2 separate regions of the Homo sapiens genome follow, and region 2 is linked to region 1. Evidence: promoter capture Hi-C in human tissues and cell types (Jung and others, 2019). All regions are on one chromosome and are shown on one strand. The core of a region is centred on a gene start or on the middle of the fragment in contact, and the rest is flanking DNA. Distances in the headings are between cores, read along the strand shown.

What was found. Contacts are between HindIII fragments. The study calls those that stand out against the background at their distance.
Region 2: a fragment that was not itself captured here is called in contact with the fragment with the promoter of ASCC2 in region 1 in 1 of the 25 tissues and cell types used here (dorsolateral prefrontal cortex).

What each region holds. Positions count from the first base shown.
Region 1 is chr22:29,837,024-29,841,592 of GRCh38, reverse strand. ASCC2 (activating signal cointegrator 1 complex subunit 2) reads left to right here and starts at 3,319. Exons shown (of 20, transcript NM_032204.5): 1 at 3,319-3,415. RefSeq lists an enhancer at 2,987-3,046. The HindIII fragment of the contact is 14,310 bases long and covers 1-4,569 here.
Region 2 is chr22:29,566,637-29,571,205 of GRCh38, reverse strand. NIPSNAP1 (nipsnap homolog 1) reads left to right here. Exons shown (of 10, transcript NM_003634.4): 2 at 674-801; 3 at 999-1,044; 4 at 1,919-2,013. Among named protein-coding and RNA genes, the nearest start is that of NIPSNAP1, 12 kb to the left of the region's middle. RefSeq lists a silencer at 1-266 and an enhancer at 1,732-2,026. The HindIII fragment of the contact is 3,498 bases long and covers 264-3,761 here.

The DNA of each region.
Region 1 (4,569 bases), core at 2,070-4,569:
TGAGCCCAAGAGTTCAAGACCAGCCTGGGCAACATAGTGAGACACCATCTCTACAAAAAAATTAAAAATTAGCTAGGCATGGTGGTGCATGCCTATAGTCACCCCTACTCAGGAGACTGAGGCAAGAGAATTGTTTGAGCCCAGGAGGCAGAGGCTGAAATGAGCCATGATCACACCACTGCACTCCAGCCTGGGTGACAGAGGGAGACCCTATCTCAATAATAATAATAATAATAATAACAGCAACAAAGGGAAACATTCACTGTTCTGACGCAGCTTGTGGCCCTTGAGATCTCTTGGAGCTTGGGGCTAAACAGGGCTGAATTCAAATCCCCACTCCACCCACTTACCAGCTCTGTGACTCTGGTCTAGTCTTTAAACCTCTCTTTAAAATGGGGTCATAATAGCGTCTACCTCTTATCATTGTTACAAAAAGTCAAAGAGCACCTGGCTCAGTGGCTCACACCTGTAATCCCAGCACTTTGAGAGATCAAGACGGGCAGATCACCTGAGGTCAGGAGTTTGAGACCAGCCTGCCCAACATGGCAAAACCCCATCTCTACTAAAAATACAAAAATTAGCCCAGTGCATGCCTGTAGTCCCAGCTACTACGGAGGCTGAGGCAGGAGGATGGCTTGAACCTGGGAGGCGGAGGTTGCAGTGAACCAAGATCGTGCCACTGCACTCCAGCCTGGGTAACAGAGTGAGACTCCATCTCATTTAAAAAAAAAAAAAAGTCAAAGAGATAATATGTGTAAAATGCTTATTCCAGTGCCTGGGATGAAGCAAGGGTTTGACAAATGTGGTCATTATTATCACAACTGTCTTTATCTCTCTGCACCTCTACTTCCTCTGCTGCAGACCTGGGGTTGATATGCATCCTCCAAGTATCTGTGGCAGGCAGACTCTAGAATGGCCTCCATTGATTCACATCTTTTGGTATTCATGCCCTTGTGTAATCCCCTGTGGGCAAATCCTGTGACTTGCTACTAACAAATAGAACATGGCAAAACTGATGTCACTTTCTTGATTAGGTTACATGAGGTTGTAATTTCTCTCTTCTTAGTAGAATCTCCTATTGCCTCCTTTTGTTTGTTTGAGACAGGGTCTTGCTCTGTTGTGCAGGCTGGAGTGCAGTGGTGTGATCACAGCTAACTGCAGCCTCGAACTCCTGGGCTCAAGCAATTCTCCTGCCTCGACCTCCTAAGTAGCTGGGACTACAGGCATGCACCAGCATGCCTGGCTAATTTTAAATTTTTTTTTGTAGAGACGAAGTCTCGCTATGTTGCCTAAGATGGCCTCAGACTTCTGGGCTCAAGCAATCTTCCCACCTTAGCCCCCCGAAGTGTTGGGATTATAGGCATGAGCCACGGTGCCCGGCCCCTATTGCCTTCTTTTATTTATTTATTTATTTTTAATTTTTAGAGACTGGGTCTTGCTATGTTGCTCAGGCTCAATTTGAACTCCTAGGCGCAAACAATCCTCCTGCTTCAGCCTCCCAACCTGCTGGAACCATAAGCATGTGCCACCACTCTTGGCTTCCCTATTAACTTTTAGGCTTGCATGCTTTGATGAAGCAGGCTGCTACACTGGAGAAGCCTACGTGACAAGCCTTTAGCCAAAATCCAGCTAGGAACTGAGACCCTTAGTCCAACAACCATTAAGGAACTGAATTTAGCCACTAGACATGGGAAGCAGATCCTTTTTGAGTTGAGCCTTTAAATGAGACTCCAGCCCTGGCCGATATCTTGATTGCAGTCTTGTGGGTGACCCTGATGCAGAGGAGCCAGCTATGCCATCCTCAGATTCCTGGCCCACAGAAAATGTGAGATAATAAATATGTTTGTTGGCCAGGTGTGGTGGCTCACGCCTGTAACCCCAGCACTTTGGAAGGCTGAGGCAGGCGGATCACGACGTCAAGAGATCGAGACCATCCTGGCCAACATGGTGAAACTCCGTCTCTACTAAAAATACAAAAATTAGCTGGGCCTGGTGGCTCATGCCTGTAGTCCTGCCTACTTGGGAGGCTGAGGCAGGAGAATCGCTTGAACCCACTGTAACCTCCGGGAGGCAGAGGTTACAGTGAGCCAAGATCACACCACTGCACTCCAGCCTGGTGACAGAGTGAGACTCTGTCTCAAAATAAATAAATAAATAAATGTGTTTGTTATAAGTGGCAAGCAGTGTGTTGTTATAAGTTTGTGGTAATATGTTATGCAGCAATACAAAACTAATATAATATCCAGCCCCTCTCATCTCATTTCTGGTTTACAGCCCATCTCTCCTATTTCCTTAGCACCCTGCATTCATCACACTGACTCATTGCTATTGGTTTTCTTGCACTTCCTATCCTGTAAGCCCCTTGAAGACAGGCACTGAACTAAGCATTCCTTGTAGCCCTAGTGCAGATAGCAGGGGTTGGCAGGAGTGTCCTGGGAAATATTTCACAATCCCAGGGTGGGGTTGTGTTCTCCATTCGGGGGCTTCTATAACACCCCAATAATGATGGTGGTTGGTTTTGAATTCTTACTGTGTACCAGGCACTGAGATGAAGCCAGGAATGTGTGTTCTTAACAAGTTTTCTGTGATGATTCTGATCCATAGTCAGGCTTAGGAACCACTAAACCTACATTACCTGAGACATTCTGTAGAAAAAATTGCATCCTTCTCTTAGGATAGCTATACTTGTAACTTCCTTAAACAAAACAGAACAAAACTGTATTGCATACATACAGAAAAATGCACAAATCTTAAGCGTACAATTTGATGAATTTTCCAAAGTGAACACATCTACATGGCTACCACCGAGATGAAGACAGGGGGTGACCCCAGCCTCACTTGTGGCCCCTCCCAGCCCACAGCCCCAGAGGAAACCACCAATTTTAACACCATCACTACTCATGAGTTCTGTCTGTTCTAGAATTTCCCGTAAATGAAATCGCAGTCTGTACTTGTACATCTGCTTAACATTATGTTCGTGCTTTTGACTTGTTAAAATTTCTCTTCTGGATTAAATATGTAAAACGGTGACTAAGGAGGTCGGGCAGAAGGTGGAAGCCTGGGATTCCGAGACGTCCTCTCAGGTGCCATACTTGGATTTCCCGAGAGGTGTAATCACACAGCCCGCCCTCAGCTGACCTATTCTCTGCTTAAGCAGGAAGGGAGATAGGAGGGGAAGGGGGCGTGGCTACAGACGCCGAGTGTGGGGCGGAGTCTTAAGAAGAGAGGCGCAACCCGGGTCCGGCTTCCCGGCGGTAGTTTGCTCGGCTCTGGGGGCGGGGCCAGGCCGAGACTTCCTGTCTGCTCCTGCGGAATCGCAGTTTGACCCCGGAAGTGCGGGCGCTCAGGGAGCTGTCACCGTGGTCGGCGGCGGCGGCGGCGGCGGCGGCACAGAGCCGGTGGTGGAGCCGCCGAGGTGAGTGCGTGGCTGGTCCCTGCCAGATGCAGGGCAAGGGACCCCGGAGGAGCCGCGGCTATGCCTTGGGCAGCCTTGGCTCTCCCATCCTCTGGCCTCCATTGCGGGGCCCACGCTTACGCTACCTGAGGGGTTGTGAGCCGCCTCTCGAGACTTGGCCGCCAGGGTCAGGAGCCACGGGTTCGAAGTTCGGCCCCAGAGTGGCGTTGGACCAGCCACGATCCCCCCACGTCCTCACACCCGGGGCTTCAGTTTCCTCAGGGTTCATTCATTCGTTCAGCAAATATTTGTGGAGTGCTTCCTATGTGCCAGACACAGATCTAGACATTGGGGATACAAAGAAAGCAAGACAGACAAGGCTTCTGCCCTCATGGAGCTTACAGTCTAGTGGGAGGAGATGGTCAACGACAAGCAAATGCACAAGGTCATTAAAGCTATGACAGTAACTGGGAGAGTGGATACTATAGGCAGAGCCATCAGAAGGTCTCTGAGGAGAGTAGTATTTAATTGAGAGACTAGAGGAATGATGACAAAGAGGCTGAGGGAGCAGTAGCCCCGGGGATGCTCCCAGGCCATATTGCAATTGGGTGCTTGTAGGGAGCTCCCCCTCCCTTTCTTAGCTTTTGGCTTTTGCTGTCCTGCCTGGCAGGGGAATACAGTGGTGGGCACAGACATAGTCATGATTATTGTTTGTCCTTTTGGAGCTCAAAGTTCAGATTGTCCAGTTAATTTATTTTTTCCCCCCAAGACGGGGTCTTGCTCTGTCGCCCAGGCTGGAGTGCAGTGGCGTGATCTCGTCCCACTGCAACCTCCGCCTCCCGGGTTCAAGCGATTCTCCTGCCTCAGCCTCCTGAGTAGCTAGGATTACAGGCATGCACCACCACGCCCTGCTAATTTTTTTTTTTTTTTTCGGTAGAGACGGGGTTTCACCTTGCTAGCCAGGATGGTCTCGATCTCCTGGCCTCGTGATCCGCCCGCCTTGGCCTCCCAAAGCGCTGGGATTACAGGCGTGAGCCATCGCGCCCAGCCCTGCCTACTTAATTTGTACCCGTGCTTTAGACAAAAACTCAGGTCTTCCTTGACATCACTTCTTCCTCAAGCCAGGTCTCTCTTTTAAATGCTGCCACAGCTTCATGAGCCTTATCTACATAGCT
Region 2 (4,569 bases), core at 763-3,262, 270 kb after region 1:
TATAATTGTGTCCCAAGGCCCATTTCTCCTAGTGGACTATGAGCTCCTCAAGGACAAAGCTTATTTGTATTTGGCTTTCCATGTGTGGGGTCAGGGTGGGGACATGGGCCAAGTGCACTGTGAGAGTGCTGGGGAGGACGGTGAGAGCAGTCTTCTCGTTAGAGGGGACAGAACTTGTACAGAAAGCACAGAGTAGCAGATCCTGGTGTGTTCAGGGAAGAGCACACCTGGAGAGTGAGGTGTACAGGTGAGGGGGCAGGAGGGGAGGCTGACAAGTTAGGTTGGGTTGTCAAGGGCTTTGGGCATGATGCAAGGTGGATTTGGGGTTGATCCTCTTGGCGAGAGGCTGGAGTTATATGACCCAAGTAGAGGACCTCTTGGAAGGGGGATGAAGTGGAGGCAGGGAGGCTAGAGAGAGAAGTGGGAGGTGGGGCTGCCTCTCCTGGCGTCCTGAGGCTCTGCAAAGCTTCAAGAAGCCAACTGGGCAGCTGGAATATCTGTAGAAAGGAGCTGGCTCCAATAGCATTTCACAGTCTGGAGCTGCCACAGGACTCCGTGGCCCTGTTCCCAGAAATGTGGGTCACTGGTCTAGGGGAGCAGGACATCCAAGTGGATGGAATTGCTGGGGCTCCCCCAACCTCCGCGCGTCCCCCTCAACTCCTCTGTCCTGCAGTTTCTATTCCAAGGACAATGAAGGCAGCTGGTTCCGCTCCCTCTTTGTTCACAAAGTGGATCCCCGGAAGGATGCCCACTCCACCCTGCTGTCCAAGAAGGAAACCAGCAACCTCTATAAGATCCAGTGTGAGTGGCTGCTGAGCTGACCAATTTCTGCCCTTTCAGGGGCTCTGGGGGCCTGTGAGGCTCCAGGAAGGAGATGGGAGGGTCTGGAATGTCCTCAGCTGTCCTGGGACCCCTGGCCTTGATGGGCTCCCCTCACCCCAAGTTCTTCCCTGTGTACACACCCTACCTCACTTCTTGTTCTCTGTCCTCTGTTGCAGTTCACAATGTAAAGCCTGAATACCTGGATGCCTACAACAGCCTCACGTGAGCACCCTGCATCCATACATCCCATCCCCTGCTTGGGTGGGGAACACACTTTCAGCAAATTTGCGGAACATCCTCCACCCTGTTCTTTTCTGTAGAAATCCAGGAGATGTAGATTTCTTTTATTTCTGCCTTTTTCTTTCTTTCTTTCTTTCTCTCTTTCTTTTTTTTTGAGATGGAGTTTTGCTCTCGTTGCCCAGGCTGGAGTGCAATGGCGCGATCTCGGCTCACTGCAACCTCTGCCTCCCAGGTACAAGCGATTCTCCTGTTCCAGCCTCCCAAGTAGCTCGGATTACAGGCATGCGCCGCTAAGCATGGCTAATTTTTTTGTATTTAGTAGAGACAGGGTTTCACCATGTTAGTCCGGCTGGTCGCAAACTCCTGACCTCAGGTGATCCACCTGCCTCGGCCTCCGAGTGCTGGGATTACAGGCATGTGCCACTGCGTTTGGCCCCATTTTCTTTCTTTCTTTTTTTTTTTTTTAAGAGATGGTCTCCAGGAGGCGGAGGTTCCAGTGAGCCGAGATTGCGCCATTGCACTCCAGCCTGGGCAACAAGAGCAAAACTCTGTCTCACACACAAAAAAGAGAGATGGGATCTCACTTTGCTTCCCAGGCTGGTCTCAAACTACTGGGCTCAAGCAATCCTCCTGCCTCAGCCTCCCAGTGTTGGGATTACAGGTGTGAGCCACTGTGCCCAGCCAGGATGTAAATTTCAGTGTCGGAAGTCCTGAGGGCCTCTTGCCTAGCTTCTGCATTTTAGAGATGGAGAGTCTGAGGCCCAGCCCCAGGGTCTGTTTGAACTGAGTTTGAACCCTTATCTCAGAGGCCCTGGTGGCTATGTGAACCCTGCCCCTCTCTGCACCTCCCCCACAGGGAGGCTGTGCTGCCCAAGCTTCACCTGGATGAGGACTACCCATGCTCACTCGTGGGCAACTGGAACACGTGGTATGGGGAGCAGGACCAGGCAGGTAAGGCGCTCACCTCCCTAGTGCCATTGCCACTGCCCAGCCCTGGCCTCCAGCACCTTTCACACCTGGCTGTTCTCCACTCCCTCTCCACAACAGCACCTGGTGGGGCTCTTACTAAAACCTCATCACCTCACTCCCCTGCTCAAATACCTGTCCTGGCTCCCCTGTGCCCTCAAGGTGACCCGTGAAGCCTGTGACTCCTTCCCGGCCCTGCCCCCAGCCTCATGGCACCAAATCCTCCATGCCTCGCTGTGCTGTCCCACCCAGGACTCAGTTCCTCAGATTGACAGTTTCACTCTTTAGTTCCAGACTACTGCTCATTCTCTTTCTTCTGCCTTAAGCATTATTTCTTGTTTGCCTGCTTTACCTGGATCACTGTCTTTTATTCTTTTTTTTTCCGAGACTGAGTTTCACTCTTGTTGCCCCAGGCTGGAGTGCAGTAGTGCAATCTCGGCTCACTGCAACCTCCGCCTCCCCAGTTTAAGCAATTCTCTTGTCTCAGCCTCCTGAGTAGCTGGGATTACAGGCATGTGCCACCACGCCCAGCTAATTTTGTATTTTTAGTAGAGACGGGATTTCACCATGTTGGTCAGGCTGGTCTTGAACTCCTGATCTCAGGTGATCCACCTGCCTCAGCCTCCCAAAGTGCTGGGATTACAGGTGTGAGCCACCGCACCCGGCCTTTTTTTTTTTTTTCTTTTTTCTTTTTTGAGACAGGGTCTCGCTCTGTCACCCAGGCTGGCAGATAGTGGCACAGTCTTGGCTGACTGCAACCTCCACCTCCTGAGTTGAAGATATTCTCCTGCCTCAGCTTCCCGAGTAGCTGGGATTACTGGCCTGTGCCACCAGGCCTGGCTAATTTTGTATCTTTAGTAGAGATGGGGTTTCACATGTTGGTCAGGCTGGTCTCGAACTTCTGACCTCAGGTGATCCACCTGCCTCGGCCTCCCAAAGTGCTGGGATTACAGGAGTGAGCCACCACTCCCGGCCTTTTTTTTTTTTTTTTTTTTTTTTGAGACAGGGTCTTGCTCTGTCACACAGGCTGGAGTGCAGTGGCATAATCTTGGCTCACTCGAGCCTCAATTTCCCAGGCTCAAGCAGTACTCCCACCTCAGCTTCCTGAGTAGCTGGGACTATAGGTGCGCTCCACCATGCTCGGCTAATTTTTGTGTTTTTTGGTAGAGACGGGGTTTCTCCATGTTGCCCAGGCTGGTCTTGAATTCCTGAACTCAAATGATCCTACCTCCTCGGCCTCCCAAAGTGCTAGGATTGTAGACATGAGCCACCGTGCCTGGCCTTTCAGTTTTATTCATTTTTAAATTTTCATTTATTTATTTATTTTTGAAACCAGGTCTTGTTACCCAGTGGGGAGTGCAGTGGTGTGATCACAGCTCACACAGCCTTAACCTCCTGAGCTTAAGCAATCCTCCTACCTCAGCCTCCTGAGTAGCTGGGACCACAGGTGCATGCCACAATGCCCAACTAATTTATTTTAAATTTTTTGTAGAGACGGGATCTCCCTATGTTACCCAGGGTGGTCTCAAACTCCCGGGCTCAAGCGATCCTTCCACTTTGGCCTCCCAAAGTGCTGGGAGTACAGGCATGAGCCACAGTGCCTGGACTATTCACTTTTCTATTTTGGCATAGATGTCACCTCCTCCTGGAAGGCTGCCGAGATTTCCTCCACGCGGGCTGGGTCAGGCACCTTCCTTAGCTCTCCAGGCCTCAGTAATTACCTCCTCACGCCCTGATCATGTACCCCTATAGCTGCCTGTTTAGTTGTCTGTCTCCATATATGGGTGAATCCCCAATATGCAGCACATATTTGTGGAATAAATAGGAGTTCTTCTTGTCTGAGCTGGTGTCTTACAGTCCCAGGGGCACCCCTAGCATGCCCCATCCCAGCCTAATAGACACATCAAAGTTGGCACCAGCTATAAGAACCCACACATGAATTTGGCTGACTCACAGCATCTCAGCCACTCAAAGGGACCTCAAATTCAGACCCACACTGTCCAAAATGATAGCCACTAACCACATGTAGTTATTTATTTATTTATTTTTTTGAGATGGAGCCTCGCTCTGTACTGTCACCCAGGCTGGGGTACAGTGGTGCAATCTTGGCTCACTGCAACCTCTGCCTCCTGGGTTCAAGTGATTCTCCTGCCTCAGCCTCCTGAGTAGCTGAGGTTACAGGCGTGTGCCACCACACTTGGCTAATTTTTGTATTTTTAGTAGAAACAGGGTTTCACCATGTTGGTCAGGCTGGTCTTGAACTCCTGACCTCATGATCCTCCCGCCTGAGCCTCCCAAAGTGTTGGGATTACAGGCATCAGCCACTGCGCCTGGCCTATTTATTTATTTTTTTGAGACAGCGTCTCACTCTGGTTTCCCAGGCTGGACTGCAGTGGTGCAATCACAGCTCACTGCACCCTTGACCTCCCGGGCTCAGATGATTCTCTCACCTCAGCCTCCCAAGTAGCTGGAACTACAGGTGTGCACCACCACAGCCAGCTAATTTTTTATATTTTTAGTAGAGACAGGGTTTCGCTATGT